Linked DNA regions of Homo sapiens: region 2 is linked to region 1. The links are contacts of gene promoters, found by promoter capture Hi-C in blood cells and fetal thymus (Javierre and others, 2016). All regions are on one chromosome and are shown on one strand. Each heading gives the region's core, a stretch centred on a gene start or on the middle of the fragment in contact. The rest is flanking DNA. Distances are from core to core; before and after follow the strand shown.

What was found. The method cuts DNA at HindIII sites, captures the fragments that hold promoters and counts their contacts. A CHiCAGO score of 5 or more calls a contact.
Region 2: a contact is called between the fragment with the promoter of KICS2 here and the fragment with the promoter of HELB in region 1, in 1 of 17 cell types (total CD4 T cells). The highest score is 5.2, in total CD4 T cells.

Annotation. Positions count from the first base shown.
Region 1 is chr12:66,297,277-66,303,841 of GRCh38, forward strand. HELB (DNA helicase B) reads left to right here and starts at 5,217. Exons shown (of 13, transcript NM_001370285.1): 1 at 5,217-5,514. The coding sequence starts at 5,328. RefSeq lists enhancers at 5,287-5,336, 5,397-5,476, 6,108-6,207, 6,238-6,547. The HindIII fragment of the contact is 5,857 bases long and covers 1-5,771 here.
Region 2 is chr12:64,218,878-64,225,489 of GRCh38, forward strand. KICS2 (KICSTOR subunit 2) reads right to left here and starts at 3,419. Exons shown (of 3, transcript NM_152440.5): 1 at 3,126-3,419. The coding sequence starts at 3,360. LOC124902952 (a long non-coding RNA gene) reads left to right here and starts at 3,472. Exons shown (of 2, transcript XR_007063347.1): 1 at 3,472-3,666. RefSeq lists enhancers at 2,943-3,062, 3,133-3,192, 3,227-3,821, 3,303-3,392, 3,543-3,732 and 1 more. The HindIII fragment of the contact is 7,597 bases long and covers 1-6,612 here.

The sequences.
Region 1 (6,565 bases), core at 3,967-6,466:
CTACCAGCCTCATCTCACACCCATTCCTTATACCTTCAACTTCAACTTCACTGACTGGCCACCAGCAATCCTGGAATCCCCAATTTTTTCTCTATGACATTGATGTTTTGGAATATCCAGGTCAGTTGTCTTGTAGAATGTCCCATATTCTAGATCCGGTGTGGGAAAACTACAGCCTGTTTTTGTACAGCCGTAGAGCTAAGAATAGTCTTTACATATTTAAAGGGTTATAAAAAAAGAAGAGGGAGAAGAGAAGGAAGGAGGAGGTGGAGGAGTATTATGTGATGGAGACCATATATAGCATGCAAAGCCTGAAATATTTACTATCTGTCCCTTTGCAAAATGAAGTTTTGTCACCTCTGTTCTAGATCTTTCTGTTTCCTTATGGTATCATTCAGTTGGTACCTCACTTCCTTGGATTTGGGGCAAATTGGAAATTCGGTCTACAACTGTGCTGTCTAATATGGTAGTCACTAGACACATGGATTTCGAGTCCTTGAAATATGACTAGTTCAAATCGAAGTGTGCAGTAAGGGTAAAATACAGACCAGATTTTAAAGACTTAGGATAAAAAAAAAAGAATGTAAAATATTTTGTTAATAATTTTTATATTGATTACCATGTTGAAATACTATTTTGGATATTTTGGATTAAATAAAATGCATCATTAAAATGTCACCTATTTCTTTTTTCAATGTGGCCACTAGAAACTTTTAAATTACATATGTGGTCATATGATATATATCTCTATTGAACAGTACTGGTCTAGAGCCTTGATTAAAATCAGGTTAAATACTTTTGGTAAGAATACTTAATAGCTAATTTTATGTATATCTTATTGCGTCATAGCATGAAATACACATCAATTGTGTCCCATTATTGACACTGTGTTTGATAACTTGATTAAAGGGTGAGTGACAAGTATCTTCACTGTATAGGTACACTTTTCCCTTTGCAATTCGTAATCTATTACTGCCAGGAGACTATCAGTTCCCCAGTGATGTTCATATCCTTTGGTGATACTTGCTTGAATCAGTCGTTACTTTAGGGGGTTGGAAAATGCTGGTTTCTATTTTTATAATTTCTTCTTAAAAATTCTTATTAACTGGCATTTCTCTCTCTCTTTTTTTAACTATCACAATTAACATGTGAATTTTTATTTACTCAGCATGTTATAATCAAGTGCAGTCACTATTCCTTTTGATACTATAATTTTCCTTTTTTTTTTTTCATTGCAGTGACACCATCTTGCCTCACTGCAACCTCCACATCCCCAGTTCAAGCAATTGTCCTGCCTTAGCCTCCCAAGTAGCTGGAATTACAGGCACGCACCACCTTGCCCGGCTAATTTTTATCTTTCTAGTAGAGACAGGGTTTCCATGTTAGCCAGACTGGTTTCGAACTCCTGATCTCAAATCATCTGCCCACCTCGGCCTCCCAAAGTGCTGGGATTACACGCGTGAGCCACCACACCCGGCTGGTCCTTGCTTTTGAAAACAAAAAGTCACCCAGATTAAAAAACCAAGATTAGGCTGGGTGCAGTGGCCTGTAATCTCAGCACTTTGGGCAGGGGGAGGCAGAAAGATCACTTGAGGCCAGGAGTTCAAGGTCACAGTGAGCTATGATTGTGAGACTGAATTCTAGCACAACCCTGTCTAACAAACAAACAAACAGAAAATTGAGATGGTGGGTGTGATCAGAGTTACTGGGGTTACATTGCTTTCAGGTTCTTTTGGCACACAGAACTAGATAATACATTTTAAGAAATCACAAGCCCATATTGATATTTTCAATTCCAGTTTAATGTTGTAGGAGCTTTTTTCAACTTATTTTATTTTACATTTGTATTTCTTTCCATGTACATTTAAAACTTTTAATAAAATATGAATACATTTACTTATTTTCTTTATCCTACAATATATAATTTCAAAATTACACTAACAATATTACAACAAACATTAACCATAATGAGTGAAGTTTAAGATCATTTTTTAGATCTTTTGTCTGCAGAGTATAACCTACCAGGGGTGTACAGTTAGAATAACTTAAAATATTTACCCAAAGTATTGAAACATAACTTGAAATGATTATTTTCTCTTAGTGGTTATGCAATTCACTTGATAGATTTGTTTGTTTCTGTTTGTGTTCAATTTTCTGTTTTGCTTTTGTTTCTTTTATTTTTTGAATGTGTACAACATTTACATGATTCAGAAGTCAAACTACATAATAAATTAATCTCAGAGCTCTTGTCCGTATCCCCTTTCTGTCCTATCATGTTTCCATCTCCTCTGTGGGTAACTATTTTCATCAATTTCTTCCCCCTCCACCTCCCCCTCCTCCTCCTCCTTCTCCTCCTTCACCTTCTTCTGGCTCACTGCAGCCTCAACCTCCTGGGCTCATGCAATCCTCTCACATCAGCCTCCAGGGTAGCTGGACTACAGGCACACGCCACTGTGTCTGGCTAATTTATTTATTTTTTTGAGACAAGGTCTTGCTATTTTGCCCAACCTGGTCTGAAACTCCTGGGCTCAAGCAATCCTCCTACCCTGGCCTCTCAAAGTGCTGGAATTAGAGGCACGAGCCACCATTCCTGGCTATTTTCATTAACTTGTGGTTTATCTTTCATGTGATTTTTTTTTTTTTCGTAACACTGACACATACAAATAAAATGATATGCATTGTTTTACATCTTGCTTTCTCTAATTTAAAACAGTATCTTGGAAACTACTCCCTACCAATTTGTGGCAATCTTTCTTTCTTTTTATAAAAAAAATAGCTGAAGAATACTCCATTGTGTGGATGTACTACAGTTTATTTCATTAGTCTCTTGCTGTTCAACATCTCTGCTATTTCCAATAATTTGCTATTACAAAAATCACACAGTAGATAACCTATGTCTATGTTGTTTTTTGTTTTGGGAAGTGTAGCTTCAGGGTAGATCCAGGTATCTCAATTTTAGAACACATCCCAAGTGATTTTGATGCACAGCCAGATTTGAGTACCACTGCTTACTATGTATGGTAAAGATGGTATCCAGAAAGCCAGAATTGTTAACTTTTTTTTTAAAAGAATGAGAAAACAATAGGTAAAGAAGTAAGATTCTTATCATCCTAAATTCCTATCTACACTATCCAATAAAATGCAATTGAACTATATGAATAGAAGCTGAACATATAGTGACCAGGTGCAATGGCTCACGCCTGTAATCCCAGCACTTTGGGAGGCCGAGGCCGGCAGATTACTTGAGTTCAGGAGTTCGACACCAGTCTGGACACCATGGCGAAACCCTGTTTCTACAAAAAATTGCAAAAAATTAGCCGGGCTTAGTGGTGTGAGCCTGTGGTCCCAGCTACTTGAGAGGCTGATATGGGACGATCACTTGAGCCTGCTGGGAGGTCAAGGCCTCAGTGAGCTGAGATGGTGCCACTATAGACCTGTACCAAAAAAAAAAAAAAAAAAAAGGGAGGAGGAGTTGAACACCTGTGCTGTGTAGTGGCTCACATCTGTAATCCTAGCACCTTGGTAGACTGAGGCAGGAGGATCACTTGACTTTAGGAGTTCAAGACCAGCTTGAGCAACACAATGAGACCTTGTCCCCCCACCCCCCAAAAAAAAAGAGAGAAAGAAAAAAAAGTTTAACATCTAGAGATCTAGAGTTGATTCTTGTGCCCAAGTCATCATGTTGGTAACAAGAATATCCCATGTATATACTCATAAGTGACCCAGATTTGGGAAGCCAATGATAAGTTGCAGTTTAGATATGCTGAGTCTTAAGTAGCCAAGGGGCATCCAGTAGTGACTGACAGTGTTTAGGCAGTTGTTTGTATGGTTTGGAGATCAGATTAGGCTGAGTCATTAGCATGTAGGTGAAGGATGATTGAGGAAAGGATTATAGAGCAAGAAGATGCTTGGGATGGAGCCTTGGGGAATAACAGTACTTACAGGCAAGCAGAGGGGTCCAAGACTGTAAATAGCCAGAAAGGAGAAAAATCTGAGAAGGCAAGCTGCAAAAGCCCCGGCAGCAGAATGCTACAAGAAGAAAATACTTATCAGTATCAAATACTGCTGAGAGGTCAGGTAAAACAAAGGCTGAAAAGTATCCACTGGTTTTTGAAACGAAGAGGACAGTAAGTGTGACATTTGTCAGAGGAGATTCAATGTTGTGGTGGAAACAGTAGCCATGTGAATGTCAAAGGAATTCAACCTCATATAGCCAATCCTTGGAAACACTGGTGTTTTGTCAGCTGCAACAGTATTTCTTTTAAAAGCAACAAAAGTGGGCATTTTTCAATTGGTACCCAAAGGAAAAGAAATCAATTTTTATATTTTCTCCTATACATTTTTCTTAAATATTTGGTGCTAGTTGTCGTTTATATATATTTAAATATAGCATCAGGTGCTTTTGGATTTAGTAAATAGTGTGTGTTTAGTTATTTCAGGAATAATCCCAAAATAAACAGTATCAATACAGTAATGTAGTAATATATTTATGGTATTTCTTAAATAGTACCAAGACTTTCAAGTACCATCCTCATCAAGTAAGAGAATCATAGCCCCATAATAGTTTTTAAAACCACGTTCCTTTCTCTTCTATTTCCCTTCTCCTATTCCTGTCTATACTCTGGGCTGCAAAGAGACACTTTTGCCCCACTGTCAGCAGGTAGCAGCCCAGCTTAAATAAGTTTGGGAGACCAGGGTGTACTCACAGAGGAAAGGATAAAAATAACTTTGAATGTTATCTAATCCAGTGGTGTCCAAACCTAGCTGAGCATCAAAATGGACAGCCCGGAATGTACATTAAAAAGACAGAATTCTAGGTCCCTGCCCTAGATCCGATTCCAGAAGGGCATCTGCTATACTTTCGTTTTGGGAAGGTTGGGGTGGGGGTTGCTTTTCCAGGTTCTTCAAGCTCAGCAGAAGTGGACTTTCTCCCCGTTCTCTCTCCGCAGGAGATGCCGTGCACTGGCGGTTCTGCAGGTGCCACGCCTGTCACTCCCCAGCGCTGATTTCGTCCCAGCACCTTCCTGATAATCACCGCCCAGCACCAGGCTCCAAAAGGAGCGGAAGCCCCGCCCATCTCCCAGCCCCTCGCTCTCCCTTCCCCGCCCCTAACCCGCCTTGCCCCGCCCCTTCCACATGCCCTCCCCTCGGCAATTCCTGGAAACTTGGGGCGGAGCTTCGCTGCCTTTCAGGTTTTATGTACGCTGGCGGCCGCCAGGCCGTTCCCGGAAGTTGATGGCCTTACAGTCGTAGAACTGATTGGCTGATCATGACCATGCAGTTAGCCAGGGTTTTCCCGAGTTGTTTGGGTTGAGTTCAGGAGAAGCATGGCCAGGTCGAGTCCGTACCTGCGCCAACTTCAGGGACCTCTGCTCCCACCCAGGGATCTGGTGGAGGAGGACGACGACTACCTAAACGACGACGTGGAGGAGGATGAAGAGTCCGTGTTCATCGACGCCGAGGAGCTCTGCAGTGGGGGCGTAAAGGCTGGCAGCCTCCCCGGGTGCCTCCGCGGTGAGGAAGGCGTCTGCCCGGGGGATGGGGTTGGAGGGTCCAAAGTAGCGCTTCCCATTCTGGCTTTGCCCTGAGCAAGGCACCCAGTCGTGCTAACAGATTTAGCTTATCAGTGGTCTAGCTGCTTCATCCTACCAAGGGTAAAATTATGACTATAATAATAGCAGTGACTTTAACTGGACACATACTATGTGGTTTTTTTTTTTTTTTCTTTTTTTGAGCAGCAGCAAGATTTATTGCAAAGAGCGAAAGAACAAAGCTTCTACAGTGTGGAAGGGGACCCGAGCGGGTTGCCCTTTTTTTTTTTTTTTTTTTTTAAAATTATTCTCATTTTAATGGTCGTCCTTTAATTTAATGTACCTTTAATGTAAGGTAGTTTTACGCTTAAGGAAACAGTGGATGTTGAGTCTCTATTTCCACCCAGAATCGGAACTTTTATTTTTCCTTCTGACCACTTATCCTCAAGTTCTATAGAATGAGAACTTGTAATTATTATCCTATATTGCCTGGAGTCAAATACGTGGTTCTTCCTCAGCTTCTTGGAAAAACAAAACAGTCCGGGCGCGGTGGCTCACGCACTTTGGGAGGCCGAGGCAGGTGGATCACTTGAGGTCAGGAGTTCGAGACCAGCCTGACCAACATGGTGAAACCTGTCTCTAGTAAAACAACAACAACAACAACAAAACTACAAAATTAGCCGGGCGTGATGTCGCACACCTGTAATCCTAGCTACTTGGGAGGCCGAGGCAGGAGAATTGCTTGAACCCAGGAGGTGGGGGTTGCAGTGAGCTGAGATCACACCATTGCACTCCGGCCTGGGCAACAAGAATGAAACTCCATCTCAAAAAACGAAAAGGAAAGAAAAGAAAAAGAAAAACGAAACACAAGGAACACCTCAGTGCACAGATGATTGTTAATTGGTGTTAGTAACCTTGTGGTTCGGGTAAACCTTGTATAAGTAGTTTCCTGTGCTATGAGGTAGTTTCCTGTGCTATAAGTTATACCTGTTATGTATACTTTGTGACTGAGACTTAAAATATTTTAATGTGCC
Region 2 (6,612 bases), core at 2,169-4,668, 2.1 Mb before region 1:
TTCTTTCAAACAGTTCTCTTTTCTCAAAGCTCTCAGGAACCCAATCCTATCTGTTCACTATCTTGGTTTGGAATATCCAGCGGGGACTGACCTTTCTTCATGCTGGAAAACAAGGAATCAGAAACATCCAACTTCTTTCTCTTTTCAATATTTTTAATTTAAAAAATATGATTACTTTGAATGATTTTTAGAAGGCTCTAGTTATAAATGCTCATAATTTCTCAAGATTTCAAGTTCATCTCATGTCATGAAATTTTAAGTGTATTGAAGGAACGTGTAAAACATCTTGGGCATTTTATTCTCCAACTTCTTGCTAATAATACTTTTTAAACATCAGTTCTCAAGTTAAGTCATTTTCTACTATGCTAAATTTCAGCAACCCAAGGTTGAGGAAACTCTCCAGTAATGAAACAAAGGGAAGAAAAGTATGACCTTCTAAAATTCTCCACAGGCATTGAGTCAGCATATTTTAATCACTGATCCTTCCCCAAACAGGTATTATTCTCTCTTAAAGGAAAGAGAAGGAACCAAGATAAGGGCCCTACTCGAAGTTTTTCAGTAACAGGGTCAAGACAGGAAAAGAAAGCTCCCTGTCAAGGTCTATCCTTTGTCTAAAGGCCCTGCTTGCTTCTTTAATCAGGATTCACTGCTAAGGCCTCAAATAAATACCATCCATAAGAGAGGTAAAAAAAGACTCCCTTTTTACTTGAAATTTGCTAAGAGAGTAGATCTTAAGTATTCTCACAATATACACATGAAAGAAAGAAGGAAGGAAGGAAGATAACTATGTAAGGTGATGGATATACTAAGTAGCTTGATTGTGGTGATTATTTCACAATTTACATATACATCAAAACATCAAGTTGTACATCTTAAATATATATAGTTTTATTTGTCAATTATATCTCAGTAAGGCTAAAAAAACTTTTCAGAATTGTTTTAAATTTTTTAAACGCACGCATAAACTTTTTGTTTTGCTTTCTAAAGAAAACTATATAAATGTTCTAATGAGCAAAGTAGTTGGAGAACATGGGAATGTTTTAAATGGCAACACGAAAGTTTTCTCCTGAAGTTTTTAAGAAAATAGTAAACCGGGTAATTGTGTAGTCGTATTGTAAGCACACTGATATCATATACACTCCAGTACCCAAAAAAATGTGCAAAGATAAAATTTAAATTCTGGAACTTATGTTTACTGTACGTGTAAATAAGTTATGAAGCATTAAATATACCATTTTCAGAATATTTACTCAGAAATGAGGAGCCCACCTAGGAACGTAACAGTGCCTGGGCATGTTTCACAGCACCAAATGTTGTATAGGTCAGTTTCAAGGCATAGTCCTCATGCTCACCCATGCCAGCTGGGGTTCAAGCAGAACTAATCAATTTACACATTGAGGACCACTTTACAGAACCCAAGTCAGAGACAGTGAAGATCTTATACACACATTCTTACACACAGGGCAGCCAGTTCTGTTTACGTAAAAACCTGGCTCATTCAACTTAAAACTAGAGTAGCAGATTTTTTTAAATGGAGTCAATAAATAGACTTTAGAAAATTCAACTGAACCCACTCAGGTTATACGCAAAATTATATGTACATATATATTTTTCTGGAGAGTAAGTACACAGCTTTCATCAAATTTCCATGGATAAGTTAATAAAAAAAAAAAGCAAAGAATCATGGCACTTGAATCAGTCACCATTCTTTGAGGTGGGGGAGTCTAAAAACAACTGAAACTGCCTAAATATTACCTACCTTCAGTATTACAGCTAGAATCCACCCCATTTTCACATATATAAAAAACATATATCTGTATATATTATACATAAATTATAATTTTCATACACATTTTTAATAAGTTATATGAATGCAAACTCAATCTGAGAGTACAAGGGCAGATATTTTGGTTTCGACTCTATCATCTACCCAACATAACTGCATATATAATTTGCTAATCTATAGAAAGGGGAATAATAACACCATAGCAGCAACTGCAAATTTGTGAGAAATGCCATTGTAAAAAGGGGAGGAAAAAAATAAGGTGAAACTATCTGACCAGTTTTTGCTAATAAATTAGCATACTAAATAAGTATGTATAAATCAACATACTTGCTACAGCAATTACGAACTCAGGAAGCCCTGTCTCTTGAGTGTTTACTGAAAGCTCAATAAGATGTACATGGTCACCTTCAGGCAATATAAGGAAAGTAGGGGGCTGGTTAGGGAACGGGGGGGGGTGGATCAAAATGAAATCTACACCAATTTTACATTTCTATTCTCTGTATTTTATATACGTGTCCTTCATTCACATCAGACCTCACGCTTCTGAAAATTGAAGAGTCTAAAACAGGTCAAAGTACTGACTCTGAAACCCCTAGGATTCAAATATATTTATTTGTCATAATTAAGCAGTAATATTATTTTGTATGCATATTCCATGCCTTTTACATCTATTATTTCCTTCTCATCTACTTATACTTATTGCTTCTACTAGTAAAAATCAGTTGAATCAGCTCTTGAATCTTATTTCAGAGGCAAGATGTACATGAAGTGCTAAGAGTGTTTACCATTTTCCCCTTAAGTCTCTTCTTGCTAGTGTTAGGCATATTTCTTGCCTTTCCTGCCCAATATTCATTTATTACTTTAGTCATTAAATATGTATTGGGGGACTATGAAGACGGGGTAGGACTCTAAATGTGACTCTCGGGCCTTAACCTTAAGAGGCCACACAACAGTGTTCAGTAATAGAACTAGGTTGTTTTGCAAAGTTTTGCTCTTCTGGCTGCAGCGTCACTAATTAAAACAATGAAGACATAGTTTGGTTAACTTCTCATTTATGGCATCAATCCATGCACGAGGCAAAAGGGCAAACCCTTCGGTTTGGGTCACAGCCCTGCAAAGAGCATCTACCCAGTTCGCCAATCTATCAGCAGCGCAGGCCGGTGGGCGGGGCTTGTGGAAGCCCAGGGAAGGAAAGGAACGGTGGGAGGAGATCTGGGAATGCCGAGTCGAGCCTGCGACTAGAAGTGACACAGAGACGGGAAACCCAAGCCACTGCCGACTGGGGAATATACCCCCTTTACTTCCTCCTCAAGGGGCTCGGGGGGCGGGGCGGAGGTACCTAGTTTCTGCCCCAGGTAGGTGAGGCTGTGATAGACCTTCTCGGCCGCGGCCAGGTGCGCCAAGGCCGCCAGCAGCGACAGCCAGCTGCCCCCCGCGCTCTTGTTGGCCTCTCGTTCCTTCTCCACATTGTCCTTAGCCTTGTCGTAAGAGAAGATACCCAGGTGAGAGAAGAACGTCTCCAGCACCGCCTGTTCCACCGGGACCGGGGCGGCCAGCGGGATAGACTCCCCCATGCGAGCTGCGCCCCAGCTCGACCCACGTGGCTCTCCTCGGCCTCGCACTTCCGGGTTCTGAGGGAACGGGCTTGCGCACAAGCGTGCGTGCGCGTGACCGCCTCCACCGGCGGACTCGTGAGCGCGCCGCTGCCGGGACCGCTCCTGGGCCTTAGAGAAGACGCGGATAAGGGCCAAGGAAAGAGGGAGGTAGCGGTTGCTGAGCTCCTTCGGCGCTTCGGCTCCTGTAGCTCTGACTATTCGGACCGTCAAGGTAGAATAGGAGGCGGCCAGTTCCCCGCTCTAAGAAGTTGCCTGCGCTCTGAGGTGAGCTGACAGGCCCCTCTCTGTGTGGTTCGTCAGCGCTGGTGACGTCATGCAAACGTGACGTCAGCCCTGGCCAGAACATCTGGCCTGGGCTCTCCAGGCACCTCGCTGGGCCGGCTGGGAGATGGGGAAGTGCCTGGAGTTGTGCCCACACTCACAGCAGGGACCCTAGTCAGCCCTGACACCTTCTACACCAACTCATGGAAGTGATTTGCTGAGATTAGAAGACTGACGGGTAAAGGTTGATCTCCTTCCCATTGCCTAGTTTTCATCACATCACACACCACCGGTTAACTCTCACCTGTATCCCGTTCTAGTTCTCCCGGGTCTGTGTTAGCCCTGCAACTAATAAGTAGAGCCCCTGGCCCAAACTGCATTAACCTTCCTTAAAAAGTTATCTTTTTTTTTTCTTTTTTTTTGAGACGGAGTCTCGCTCTGTCGCCCAGACTGGAGTGCAGTGGTGAGATCTCGGCCCACTGCAGCCTCCACCTCCCGAGTTCAAACGATTTTCCTGCCTCAACCTCCCTAGTAGCTGGGATTACAGGCCAGCGCCACCACACCTGGCTAATTTTCGTATTTTTAATAGAAACAGGGTTTCACCATGTTAGCCAGGCTGGTCTCAAACTCCTGGCTCAAGCAATCTTCCCACCTCAGCCTCCCAAAGTTTTGGGATTACAGGTGTGAGCCACCACCCCTGGCCAGAATGAAGAATACATTAATGTAAATTGTGCACGTTGTCATTTAGAATAATTACAAGTTCCTTTGGCATTTAAGAAACCCCATGAACCCGGCTCATACTTGTATGTCCACTACTTTGAAACACTACCCACTACTCAATAGTTTTTTCCTTTCTTCTTTGTGCATACTTATTTTATGCTTCTTAGTCACACTATTTAATCGCATATATTTACATATCTCTTTCCCCAAGTGGTGAGATCCCTAGGGTACAGTAGGGTTCACTTACAGTTATAATCTTTTCATATTGGACGGCGCAGCCATGTTTGTTGAACAAATGAGAGAATTGCCTATTTTCGTTTTTTCTCAAACTAGAGCTGTTCTGCCATCATCACTACCTTTTAAAGGAAATCCCACTAATCTAATTTTAATGAATAGGTATTGTGCACCTGTTCCCTATACTCAAGAATGTAATTGGATAAGATCAACCCTGTTAACAATGATACAAGGCAGTTTTTTTTTTTTTTGGTTGTTTTATTTTGTTTTGTTTTTGGACAGGGTCTCACTCTTTCCCCCAGGCTGGAGTTTTCCCCAGGCTGGAGTGCAGTGGCATGACCTCGGCTCACCGCAACCTCCGCTTTCCAGGCTTTAGTGATTCTCCTGCCTCAGCCTCTGGAGTAGCTGGGATTACAGGCCAGTGCCACCACACCTGGCTAATTTTCGTATTTTTAACAGAATTGGGGTTTACACCATGTTGGCCAGGCTGGTCTTAAAATCCTGACTTCAAATGGTCTGCCCGCCTCGGACTCCCAAAGTGCTGGGATTACAGGCATGAGCCACTGCGCCCAGCTTCAAGGAAGATTTTTTTTTTTTTTTTTTTTTTGAGACAGAGTTTTGGTCTTGTTGCCCAGGCTGGAGTGCAGTGGAGCCATCTCAGCTCACTGCAACCTCCACCTGCCGGATTCAAGTGATTTTCCTGCCTAAGGCCAGCCTCCAGAGTAGCTAGGATTACAGGCATGTGCCACCACGCCCTGCTAATTTTGTATTTTTAGCAGAGACGGGGTTTCTGCATGTTGGTCAGGCAGGTCTGGAACTCCCGACCTCAGGTGATCCTCCCGCCTCAGCCTCCCAAAGTACTGGGATTGCAGGCGTGAGCCACCGCGCCTGGCCAAGGCAGATTTTTAAACATGACAAAGGTGAAAGACAGAGAGTGAAGGGAGCAATCATACCATTTTGGAAGAATTAAGGAGGCTTCCTGGAGGAGAGTGTGATGATTCTTGATGAATAAATAGAGGTAATCAAAAAAAAGTGTGGTACTATCACCAAAACCAATAGACAATAAAAGAGATTATAAAACTCATAAACATACCCACATAATATAAGAATTCCTTAGGTAATGAAGGTGACATTATAAATTAGTGGGGAAGAAACATACTCAATTAGTAGTGAAGGAAATATGCTTAACCATGGGAAAATAGACTGTCACCTTGTTTCCTGAAGAAAAAAAAAGTGTAAAACACAAAACCAGAAACCAGAAAAAATACAAGTGACTAATTGATCTAAAGATAGAGAAGGACCTTCTAAATATAAAAGAATTGGAAGAACTTAAAAAGGATGAGATTGATTTGACTGTATAAAATACCTAATGTAGATGACGGGTTGATGGGTGCAGCAAACCACCATGGCACATGTATACCTATGTAACAAACCTGCCCCATGTATCCCGAAACTTAAAGTATAATAATTAAAAAAAAATGACATCCTGGGAAAAAGATATCTGTAATGTATGTCAGACAAAGGTTTAATGTACTTAACATATCAAGATCTCTTACTAACCAACAAGAATAAAAGGACATGAATATATAAGTCCCAAAAGAAATATAAAACTCAAGTAATTCTTTTTTAATGCTCAACCTCACTAGTAATCAAAGAAATGCAAAATAAACTATATTCTATGTTTCATCTACCAAACTAGCAAAAGAAACTGTTTAATTTTATTTCAATGGTTTTGGGGGTACAGGTGGTTTCTATAGGAATAAGCTCTGTAGTACTGATTTCTGAGAGTTTTGGTGCACCTATCACCTGAGCAGTGTACACTATACCCAGTGTGTGGTCTGTTATCTCTCACCCCTCTCCCAACCTTCCCTGCGAGTCCCCAAAGTCCATTATATCATGCTTATGCCTTTGCATTCTCATAGGTTAGCTCCCAAAAGAAACATTTTAATTGCTGATAAATGTGCAATAAACATCTCCCCATTTTCCCCACCCCCA